Regions from separate parts of the Homo sapiens genome. Here region 1 is linked to region 2. Evidence: promoter capture Hi-C in 16 types of primary human blood cells and fetal thymus (Javierre and others, 2016). All regions are on one chromosome and are shown on one strand. Each heading gives the region's core, a stretch centred on a gene start or on the middle of the fragment in contact. The rest is flanking DNA. Distances are from core to core; before and after follow the strand shown. Region 1 overlaps ITSN2 (intersectin 2). Region 2 holds the start of MFSD2B (MFSD2 lysolipid transporter B, sphingolipid).

Region 1 (5,985 bases), core at 1,901-4,400, 330 kb after region 2:
AGGCAGGCAGATGACATGAAGTCAGGAGACCGGTCTCACGGTCAACATGGTGAAACCCTGTCTCTATTAAAAATACAAAAATGCGCCGGGCATGGTGGTGAGTGCCTGTGAGGCGGGAGAATAGCTTGAACCTGGGAGGTGGAGGTTGCAGGGAGCCAAGATCGCACCACTGCCCTCCAGCCTGGGCGACAGAGCAAGATTTCCTCTCAAAAAATACATAGGAAAAAAGGTAAGATTTAAGAAAGGGAGGCAGAGTTATTATAAGGCTTTAGTTTTTAGGTGACAGAACAAAACTATTTTTAGACAAAAAAAAGAAATAAAGATTTAATTTACAAAAAGGAGATGGGAGAGAAGTTACCTAATGGAAGTTAGGGCCAGAAAAAGAAGTAGTAGACAGCTCTAGAACACGAAGTTAGAACCTGGGACAGATATTTCTGTCTCTAAGAATGAAGTTCAGGAAGGGGAGTAAGAATGAACAAAGGCATACATAAGTTTAGAAGCAGAAGAAAGAGCGATTGAGAAGGTACAGATTTTCTTCTACCATTTTTTTTTCTTTTAGAGATATATAATCTTTTTGAGACAGTCAATGTTGCCAAGGCTGGAGTGCAGTGGCATAATCACGGTGCACTGCAGCCTCGACCTCCCAGGCTCACGTGATTCTCCCACCTCAGCTTTTCAAGCGGCTGGGACCACAAGAGCACGCTGCCAAGCCCGGCTAATTTTTAAAATTTCTTATAGAGGTGCAGTCTCCCTATGTTGCCCAGGCTGGTCTCAAACTCCTAAGCTCAAGTGATCCTCCCACCTCAGCCTCCCAATGCAAGCTTTCTTTGTCTCTCTTCTTTAGGCTCAGACAACAGTCCAAAGGGCAGAGCTAAGGACAGACTCCTTGATCTCGTAGGCCCTCAAGTGTCTAAGCACAAATTTCTCTCCTCTTCAAGCCATAAAAGAGAAAGACACATGCAAATCAGTTCCCATGACTCAACCAGATATGTGCATTTCAGCTTGCATTCAAATCAGCTTAGGCCCTACACATCAAAACATTTGTTAAAATGAATGAATGTGAAGGAAAACATTCTAGGCAGAGGTTACTCTGCAAAAGCAGAGTAACTAGTGTGGTCTGGAAAAATAGAAGATTACTTACTCACATGAAATAGTGAAGGGCTGGCCTGGCACAGTGGCTCATGCCTGTAATCCTAGCACTTGGGAGGCCGAGGCAAGTGGATCACCTTGAGCTCAGGAGTTCAAGACCAGCCTGGGCAACACAGTGAAACCCCTCTCTACCAAAAATAAAAAAAATCAGCCAGGCGAGGTGGCATGTGCCTGTGGTCCCAAGTACTCAGGAGGCTGAGGAGGGAGGACTGCTTGAGTCTGTAAGATGGGGGTTGCAGTGAGTCAAGATCGTGCCACTGTACTCCAGCCTGAGTAACAGAGTGAGACCCCATCTCAAAAAAAAAAAAAAAAGTGAAAGGCTAACAACAATGCAAGGAACCATAACAATAGATACAAAAATAAGTACAATGTTAATGCCTAGCTGATACAAATGTCAATTAGCATAAGATCCTTAAAACAACCTGAAAAATTAAACATTAAAAAATATATATATAATAGAAAGTGAAAGTCCATTACCAAGAAAACAATCATTAGCAGTTTTGAATAGATTGTTCCAGATATTTCCTATTTATACACTAGCAAATACCACTTTTACACAAATGAAGTCATACTTCATTGTTCTGCTTTTTTCATGTTACCAATTTTTCACAGTGAATAAGTAATCTTCTATTTTTCCAGACCACACTAGTTACTCTGCTTTTGCTTGTACTGTAACCACTGCCTAGAATGTTTCCCTTCATGTTCATTTTAACAAATGTTACAATTAATGCTACAATAAACATTCTTCATACATGTGTGTAAATATAGGTCTGTGGACAGATATGTGCTTCCAAAGATAAATTCTAGAAGTGGAAGTAGCAGGTTAGAGAGCATGAACATTCTAATTTTAATAGATAATACCAAACAGCCTAAATTGGACTTTACCTATAAAGTCTCTCAATACAGGCTGATAGCATAATACCAATAAGATGCGGTTTAGAGACACAACCCTCTAACTCTGACTTAATTCAAAAGACATTTTAGAGTACCTATACCAGTAATATACTCCATTTCCTCTAAGCAATTTTCCACAAACATTATTTCCCTTAACTAAGCTTTCCTCTCCAAATAAATGTAATTTATAAGCACATGCTCCACAAAAATCTCAAACATGAAAAACTTACTAAGCGGACTCCACAGACAGGGGAGGAGGGGTGAACCTGAAGACCCAGTCCTGATTACCACAGTTAACAGTTTGGTATTTGTTTTTCCAGATTTATTTTATGCATATATAAACAAACATGTTATTTTTCAAACCCAAATAAAATTATGCTAGCCAATTAATATTCTATTATTTTCATTACACATATTACAGATATCCTTCCATAGCAATATATAATACATCAATCATATCCTTTTAAATAGGTGTACAGCATTTTATTATATGGATATACCAGAAATTAAGCTATCTTCCACTGGTGGACATTAAGACGGTTTCCAGTTTTTTGCCTAACAAACCATACTACTTTGAACATCCTCATCCTCATATATATACTGAGTATTTAGGTAGGACAATACTTCTAGAAGTAGAATTAATGGGTATCAAGTTGCTTTCCAAAATTTATTAATAGTACCATTTTATATTCCCATTGGTGTGTAAACATACTTGTTTCTGTATAATCTTGCCAATATTTGGTATGAACAATTATTTTATGTATTGCCAACCTGAGAGGCAAATTTTTTCTAAATTTTCATTTCTCTGATCATTAGGGAACTCAGCATTTTTCATATATCTATCATGTATATTTCTCCTATGAATTGCCTATTCATTTATTTTGCCCATTTTCTATAGCATGCTGTTCAATGGAAATGCAACACAAACTACATAATGTAATTTTAAATGTTCTAGTAGCCACATTTTAAAAAGTAAAATTAGGCCAGGTGCAGTGGCTCACGCCTGTAATCCCAGCACTTTGGGAAGCTGAGGCAGGTGGATCACCTGAGGTCAGGAGTTCAAGACCAGCCTGTCCAACATGGTAAAACTCCATCTCTACTAAAAATATAAAAATTAGCTGGGCGTGGTGGCGGGCACCTGTAATCTCAGCTACGCAGGAAGCTAAGGCAGGACAATCGCTTGAATCTGAGAGGCAGAGGTTGCAGTGAGCCCAGATTGCGCCAGTGCATTCCAGCCTGGATAATAGAGTGAGACTACATTTCAAAAAAATAAATAAAAAGTAAAAATAAACGGGTAAAATCTGTATTAATATATTTTAATTAGTTCATATCTAAATATTATCACCTCAACATATGATCAGTATAAAAATTCTTATGACATTTTACATTTTTGTACTGTCTTCAAACTCCAGCTTTTACACTTATTATACACTTAGAGTACTTCTCAATATAGAACTAGCCACATTTCAAGTGCTGATTAACCACATATTAAAGGCTACTGTATGGGATAGTGTGGTTCTATAGGATCTTTATATGTGAGAGCTCAGATTTCCCCCATTTCAGCCTTTTTTCCCCTATGTTTTTATTTTTACTGTACAAATAATTTAAAAGCAAAGGCTTCAAATAATGTACAATTATGAAGAGCAAAACATGACAGTCATTCTTTATTACCTCACTCACAGTACCATCTCCAAGATAACCATATCAGCCACTGAAGTACATTCTCACAGCCTATTTTTACATATTATATAAACGTATATATACCCATATGTATTTTACATTGTCTAAACCTTCTTCTAAGATAATACCCATCAGAAATACCACATTCGATTCTACATAATATTCAACAGGATGGGTAGATCAAAATTTATTTTTTAATAGACACATAATACATTAATACTCTCATTGTAAAAACTTAAAACATACAAATAAAGCCAATTCTTTTGACCATCCTTCCCCATCAGTCTCTGAAAATACCCAGTGCTGTTAACAACATGACCTGTATCCACGGATCTTTTTCTATGCATTACAATAATAGATATTATATTAATAGTAAGCTTTTACCTGTAACATATGCTATAAATGCTTTTAATCTAGCTTGTTTGTCTTTTAATTTTAGGGCATCTTTCATTATACCAATTTAAATTTGTTGGTCTTTCTTTTATGACTAGTGAGTGTCTTGTCATACAAAGAAAGGCCTGTCTCATACCAGGTCTTATACCAGAAAATTGTCCTATATTTTATTCTAGTACCTCTATGATTTAAGGGTTTTATGTATATATTTGATCTACGTGGATTTTATTTTGGAGTGAAGAAATGGATATGAGTCCAAATTGTTTGCGCTACCCTTCTACCACCACCACTTGCGATGTCTAGCAGTGTCTACCCTTCTTATCTCTATGACCTCTAAGACTGTATCCCAGCCCACAAAGATGGAAAGGCAGAAGGCTACGTAGAGTATAGCACAGAAAGGAGGGTGGGGGATTAACTGTAGAGAGGAAAAACTTGACAAACACTACTTTAGCCAGCTGGTCAAGGTCAACATCAACAGTCATAAAGCATGCAGACAGTATGTGCTCTTGATAAGATGAAAGTATCATTTTGCCTTTGTCATCTTCCTCCTAAAAATTCACTAACTTAGTCCAAGCATGACAAATCATCAAATTCCAATATACTTACAATATATTTATATATCTCCTACAATATCTGTCCAGTAACCTCTCAAAACTGTCAAAGTCATCAAAAACAAGGAAAGTCTAAGGAACTGTCACAACTAAGAGGAGCCTAAGGAGACATGACAGCTAAATGTAATGTGGTGACCTGGAACAGAACAAGGATATTAAATAAAAACTAAGGAAACTGAAATAATGCATAGACTTCAGTTAATCATAATACAATCAGTATTGTTCATTATTCCTAACATATGTACCATACTGATATAAGATATTAATAATAGTGGAAACTATGTGTGGGGTACATGAAGGGATATATGGGAACTCTGTTCTACTCGCTCCATTTTTCTGTAAATTTAAAACTGTTTAAAAAATAAGCCTATCAATTTTATAAAAAGCAAATACCTCAGAAGTAGAAGAGTATAGGTAAATATGTGCCTCTAATTTTGACCACATTCATTAAAAACAAAATACCCACTTGATCCACATGGAAATTTATCTTTTTTTTTTTTTTTTTTTTTTGAGATGGAGTCTCGCTCTGTCACCTAGGCTGGAGTGCAGTGGCATGATCTCGGCTCACTGCGACCTCCACCTCCCGGTTTCAAGTGATTCTCCTACCTCAGCCTCCCGAGTAGCTGCTACTACAGGCACCCGCCACCACGCCCAGCTAATTTTTTTTGTACTAGTAGAGACAGGGTTTCACCATATTGGCCAGGCTGGTCTTGAACTCCTGACCTTGTGATCTGCCGACCTCAGCCTCCCAAAGTGCTAGGATTACAGGCGTGAGCCACCGCAACCAGCAGAAATTTATCTTAAGAAAATATCTAAAGAACAAAAATAGATTGCAAGGATGCATAGTACAGTTTTACCAATATTAGAAAAAATACAAATAAGCTAATTTATCCAAAAATAGAGAAAGAAGCAAAAAATTAAAGTTACATTCACTCAGAATATTATTTACCTATTACAAATGACAATTTCAAGGCTATAGGAGATAGGATATGTTTATTATATAATGTAATTAAAAAAAAAATACAAATTGTAGGCCAGGCACTGGGGCTCACGCCCGTAATCCCAGCCCTTTGGGAGGCTGAAGCAGGTGGATCACCTGAGGTCGGGAGTTCGAGACCAGCCTGACCAACATGGAGAAACCCCGTCCCTGCTAAAAATACAAAATTAGCCATGCGTGGTGGCACATGCCTGTAATCCCAGCTACTCGGTAGGCTGAGGCAGGAAAATCGCTTGAACCCAGAAGGCGTAGGTTGCGGTG
Region 2 (6,159 bases), core at 1,736-4,235:
GTTCAGGGCTGGTAGATCAACCTCATAAAATCATCAGATTCCTGTACTGTTGATCTGCCAATCTCATCACTCTGTAGACTTGGGGTCTCAGGGTAGCTGCACTAGCACCAGCCGACACATTTGTATTTCAGCCAATAGGAAGAAGCAGATATCTTTCCTTTTAAACAGCTTTATTGAGATGTAATTCACATGCTGTGCAATTCACCCATTTAAAGTATACAATTCAGGCTAGGCCGATGGCTCACTGTAATCCCAGCACTTTGGGAGGCCGAGGTGGATCACCTGAGGATCAGGAGTTCAAGACCAGCCTGGCCAACATGGTGAAAGCACATCTCTACTACAAATACAAAAATTAGCCGGGAGTGGTGGCACATGCCTGTAATCCCAGCTACTCGGGAGGCTGAAACAGGAGAATCACTTGAACCCGGGAGGTGGGGGTTGCAGTGAGCCGAGATCGTGCCCCGGCATTCCAGCCTGGGCAACAAGACTCTGTCTCAAAAAAATAAATAAATAAAAATAAAGTATACAATTCAATGGTTTTTAGTGTATTTATAGGGTTGTGCAACCATCACAATTTAACTTTAGAAAATGTTTGTCCATTCTAAAACCTCACATGCCTTAGCAGTAACTCCCTAGCCCAGTCCCAAGCAACTACAAATGTACATTCTGTCACTCTCTATTTGCCTATTCTAGACATTTGACATAAATGGAATAATACAATTTGTAGTCTTGTGACTGGCTTCTTTTACTTAGCATACTGTCATCAAGGTTCATCTGTGTTGTAGCATGCATTGGTCCTTCATTCCTTTTTCTTGCCCAACAGTAGTCCATTGTATGGATATACCACATTATATTTATTCATTCATAACCTGATGGACATTGGCTTGTGTCCTCTTTGGCATATATATATACACACACACATTATATATATATGTATATATATATGAATGCTGCTAATGAACATTCATGTTCAAGATTTTATGTGAACATGTTTTCATTTCTGTAGGGTGTATACACCTAAGAGTGGAATTGCGGGTCATGTGGTAATTCCACGTTTTACTTTGAGAAACTGCCAAACTTTTCCAAAGGACTGTCACTAGTTTCCATTCCCACTAGCAGTGTATAGGGGTTCTGATTTCTCCACATCCTCCCCAATACTTGTCTCATTTTAATTACAGCCACCCTGTGGATATGAAATGGTGTCTCACTGTAGTTTCGATTTGTATTTCCATGTGCTTACTGTTCATTTGTATATCTTTAGAGAAATATCCAAATTCTTTGCCCATTTTAGAATTGGATTGTCTTTTAATTGTTGAGTTGTGAAAGTTGATTCCAATACAAATCCCTTTTCTCCCATTCTGTGGGTTGTCTTTATACCCACTTGTTGGAATCGTTTACAGCACAAAGGTTTTCATTTTGAAAACTTTTGTAGTTCATCCAGCTTGTGCTTTTGGCGTCCTAAGAAACAATTGCCTGGCCCAATATGATGAAGAGTTGCTTCTGGGTTTTTTGTGTTTGGTTGGTTTTGTTTTTGTTTTTGTTTTTGAGACAGAGTCTCCCTCTGTCACCCAGGCTGGAATGCAGTGGCACGATCTTGGCTCACTGCAATCTCCGCCTCCCGGGTTCAAGCGATTCTCCTGCCTCAGCCTGCCGAGTAGCTGGGATTACAGGCATGAGCCACCGTGCCTGTCCCTTGCTCCTGTTTTTTCATAAGTTTTACATTCTAGGTCTATGATGCATTTTTAGTTAATGTGTACCCCTGTTACTGGTGGAAGGTATCTGAGTCACGTGGCACCAAAATATGTCAGCAGGAGTGAATCTATATGGGTCTGCAGCAACCTCAGTTCCTGCCTCCTCAGAAGAAAGAATTCCACTGAGGGGCATAAGGCAGAAGGAGAGACTGAGGCAAGTTTTAGAGCAGGAATAAAAGTTTATTAAAAAGCTCTACAGCAGAAATGGAAGGAAGGAAAGTACACTTGGAAGAGGGCCAAGCGGGTGACCTGAAAAAGAAGCGCACAGTTTGACCTTTTGACCTGGGGTCTTATGCATTGGCATACTTCTGGGGTCTTGCATCCCTTCTCCCCTGATTCTTCCCTTGGGAGGCCTGCCTGCATGGGCAGTGGTCTGCCAGCACTTGGGAGGGGAGTGTGCACACTGTGTATACTGGAGTTGTACCCATGCTCACTGGAGGCGTTCTTCCCTTACCAGTCCGGTGTCCTTCGAGGGTCACATGTCAGTTAAACTCCGCAATTTGTGTAAGCCCACTTGCCCAGCTCCTGAGATCTTACCGAGAAGCTGATCACCAGTTTCAGGTTTTCTCTATCTATTGGGAGACTGCCTTTCCCTGGCCCCGCTGGATCAATGATCATTTTAGAGGGAGCATAACAACCGCCTGACTGTCGCCTGATGGTTGCCTGACGTACCTGGTTGGAAGCGTGGCCCTCTCCTGCCCTTTTCGAGGCTGACTAGCTACCTGCTGTCACCCCCCTTCCCTTTTAAGGACTTTTCTGGAATGTTGGCCTGTGCCACCTGCTTTTATTCGCTGGCCAGAACTTAGTTACTGGCCATCCCCGTGGTCTGTATAGGAGACTCGACAATGTATATTTCAGGCGTTGGGCATCATGTGTAGCCGGCGGAATGCCTGTTCAGCCATGGTCCAGCCTGAACGAGCGGGCCTCTTGCTTCATTTTGCAGGGGAGCTGCTGCTTGCCCGCGGTCACCCCAGCGGTCTGGCGGAGCCCTTAGCGCGCAGGGCCGCCGTCTGCGGGCGCTCACGCCCCCGGGGATCCACCCCAAGGAGAACGGTCCTGAGGGCCTGCCGGGCCTTTCCCCCCGCGGATTTTGGTTCTTCGCTGTTTCCCTTTGGGGTGCCCTTCGCGGTTTCTGCGTTTCCCCCGCGTTGCCAGCAGCCACTCGCGCCGCGCCCCTAGCCCAGAACCGCCCCTCCCAAGGGCGATAACCCCGAGGGCAACGGCCGCGGGCGGCGCTGCGGTGGCAATGGCGGCGCCCCCTGCACCAGCCGCCAAGGGGTCCCCGCAGCCGGAGCCGCACGCCCCAGAGCCCGGCCCGGGGAGCGCCAAGCGAGGGCGAGAGGTGAGCGGGGCGGCGGGGACCGGGAAGGGGCTGCGTCCTCGGGGAGCTCCAGGGCGTCGCCTCGCAGCCCCTTTTCCAGCTGGGGGCAGCCCGGAGGGGCTCGGCCCAAACCTGCCAGCTCAGGGGCTGCCCTCGCGGGGTTACACGGCTGGGAGCGGGGAGGCTGGTAGGTGCCGGCGCCGGAAAGAGACTAGGACGGGAAGCCTAGCCCTAGCCAAGGAAGTAACTTGGGGATGCGTGGTCATTGCTGTCCTGATTCCCGGCTTAGGGGTCTTGTCCGTGCCACCGCAGGTCCTCCCGGGGTCCCCGAGCTCTGGGCAGGCAGGGCTTTCTGAAGCGCCTGGGGAGGCTGCGTCCTTCCCGACCTCAGGCAGCTGCTGTGGCCTCGGCCTCCCTCCCAGACCCTGGCCTCGCCCAGGCACCAGGCTCCCCTTGGAGGCAGCCTCAGGGAAGGTCCTGGCCATGGGCTCCGACAAGAAGGGAGGAGGGCAGGTGGGAGCGGCGGGGTCTTCGGGGCCCCTTGTCCCTTGCCCGATGCCGCCGGGCCGTGCTGGCCAGTGGGGCTGTGCTGGACGGAGCAAGGGGCCTGGGGCTTCCTGGGCCTCACTGAACGCGCCTGCTCCCTGCTCGTGCCCAGGGCATTCTGTGGCCTCCCCTGACCACCTCAGCCCCCAGCCTGTTCAGGGCTTCCTACGAGGCACCTGGGAGCACAGGATTGCATCCCACAAGAAAGTGAGGTGAGATGAAGGGGCTCTCCGGGGACTCTCACTTCCCAGGGAAACTTAGAAATTCAGGGTGAGATTAACAGCAAGAGGGAAACACTCGCATTGCTGATGAAGTTCCGGCGTGGAATCCTCTTACGACTCTCCGAGGGGTGGCAGCCCCGGTCACTCCAAGGAGACCGAGGTGCCCTGCCCTGGGTCACGCAGCTAGAGATAGCAGGGCTGCGCCCCTCGCCCGGAGCCGCCCCTCCCAAGGGGCTTCTCCTTGTACAGCTCACTGTACAGCTGTACCGGGCTTTTATGACTTTCGGTAAAACTGTCATCCTCAAGACGGCAAGATGGGATCATATCCCTGGCTTCACTTGGAAGTTCTTTCTAAAGTTCTAAAAACTTGCTAGGCCTGTTTTGGGGGATACAAGAGTCCCCATTAGGGGGAGAGGGGGACTGTCACGTTGAATTCTGCCTGTTCTTAAAGTTTTCTGGAAGCTGAAATGATGTTCACACAAATGTCAGAAAAGAATCATCCTGCCCCCAGTGTGGTTTTCCCCTGTGGGTAGGAAGAGTGTGCAAAGTGTGATAAACCCTTATCTGGGGAGACCTTCCCTTCACAAGAGCCTGCTGGGGTGTCCTGCAAGATGTGGAAATGGGTGAAGCCATGTCATCTCCACTCCCTCCAGCCCCCAGCAAACGATGAGAAAAGAGCCCAGCTTCTTCCAAAGAAACAGCACTTTACACAGGGTCTTCATGGCCATTTATTGCTTCAACGGATATATACTAAGCACCTACTGTATACCAAGCTTTGTTCTAGGTACTGGAAACACCATGATAAATAAAAGGTGGAGTTCATGCTCTCAGAGAGCTTACATTCCTGTAGGGAGAGGCAGGAACTAAATGAAAATATAGCAGGCGGTAAGTACAACTGAGAGAGGTGAGAGGTTAGGGAATGCCTCTTGGAGGAGGTGACATTTAAGCTGGTGACATCAAACCAGAATGACAAGGAGTCACCTTCCAGGCAGAGGAATGGGAAGGGCAAAGGCCCTGAGGCAGCAACAGACTTGATGATTTTGAGGAATAGGAAGGAGCCCGGCGTGGCTGAAGGAGAGCTATTTGAGGTGAGGTGGGTAGGGGGCCGACTGGGTGGACTCCTTAGCCATGATCAGGACTTGGAGTTTTATTCAAACTGCAATGGTATTGACTGAATACCATGGATCTGGAAACAAACAAACAAACAAACAAAACACACACACACACACACACACACACACAAAAACAGACAAAAAAACCCTGCAATAGCAAGCCATTGGAGAGTTTTAATCAGAGAGGAGATGGGATCTGATTATTTATTTATTTATTTATGACTGAGTCTCTGTCACCCAGGCTGGAGTGCAGTGGTGTGATATTTGCTCACTGCAACCTCTGCCTCCCTGGTTCAAGCAATTCTCTTGCCTCAGCCTCCTGAGTAGCTGGGATTACAGGCGGCCACTATGCCTGGCTAATTTTTGTGTTTCTAGTAGAGATGGGGTTTTGCCATGTTGGGCAGGCTGGTCTTCAACTCCTGGGCTCAAGCAATCCACCTACCTCGGCCTCCCAAAGTGCTGGGTTTATAGGGATGAGCCACTGTGCGATTTATGTTATTACAAGAGCACTGGCTGCTGGGTGGAGTGGATTGTAGGGAGCAAGGGCAGACACAGAAGCCACTTAGGAGGCATTCACTGATAGACAAGAACTGGAAAGAAGAATAGATGACTCCTAAGTTTGTGGCCTGAGCCACTGAGGGGACCAGCGGTGCCATTTGCTAGGAGCTGGATTAGACAATGGAATGGCCATCAGGAGCTGTATGTAGACCATGCTAAGCTGAGACGCCTGCCAGGCATCCCTGGAGGGCTGTGGGTAGGCAGGCTATGGGTAAATGAGCTATCGCCTCATTTACTCATCGAAGAAACAACTTTGTGAAGTTGGCAGGGATGTTGCATTTGACAGATGAGGAAAACAGGCTTAGAGAGATGATGTGATTTATTCAAGGTCACATAGAGGGGTAGGTGACAAAGGCAGGCTCAAGCCCAGGTCTCCTGACCTGCAGCTTACACGGCCGTGCTGACTCAGTAAATGATGGCGGCTTCAGCAGGAAGCCCAGGGTAAGATGTCCAGAAGAACTTCCCCCCTGGAAATGTTTAGAGGTCAGGGTTTAGGATCTTTTTTCTCTTCGTCTCACTTCCTCTTAGGATGACATGGGGGCAAAATGGGGCTGAGAGGTTGCTGGAAAAGCCCTGAAGACATCACAGAGACTCAGGATGTTTACTGAAGTCATGGGGTGTGGGGACCTGTTTTGTGTCTGTTGGGAGAA

The links. Contacts are between HindIII fragments. The CHiCAGO score rates a contact against its expected background, and 5 or more counts as called.
Region 1: a contact is called between a fragment that was not itself captured here and the fragment with the promoter of MFSD2B in region 2, in 1 of 17 cell types (erythroblasts). The highest score is 6.1, in erythroblasts.

Annotation. Positions count from the first base shown.
Region 1 is chr2:24,341,646-24,347,630 of GRCh38, forward strand. The region is part of intron 1 of ITSN2 (intersectin 2); the gene reads right to left. Among named protein-coding and RNA genes, the nearest start is that of ITSN2, 16 kb to the right of the region's middle. The HindIII fragment of the contact is 1,896 bases long and covers 2,203-4,098 here.
Region 2 is chr2:24,007,100-24,013,258 of GRCh38, forward strand. It overlaps MFSD2B (MFSD2 lysolipid transporter B, sphingolipid), which reads left to right and starts at 2,986. Exons shown (of 14, transcript NM_001346880.2): 1 at 2,986-3,093. The coding sequence starts at 2,998. The HindIII fragment of the contact is 4,987 bases long and covers 1-4,610 here.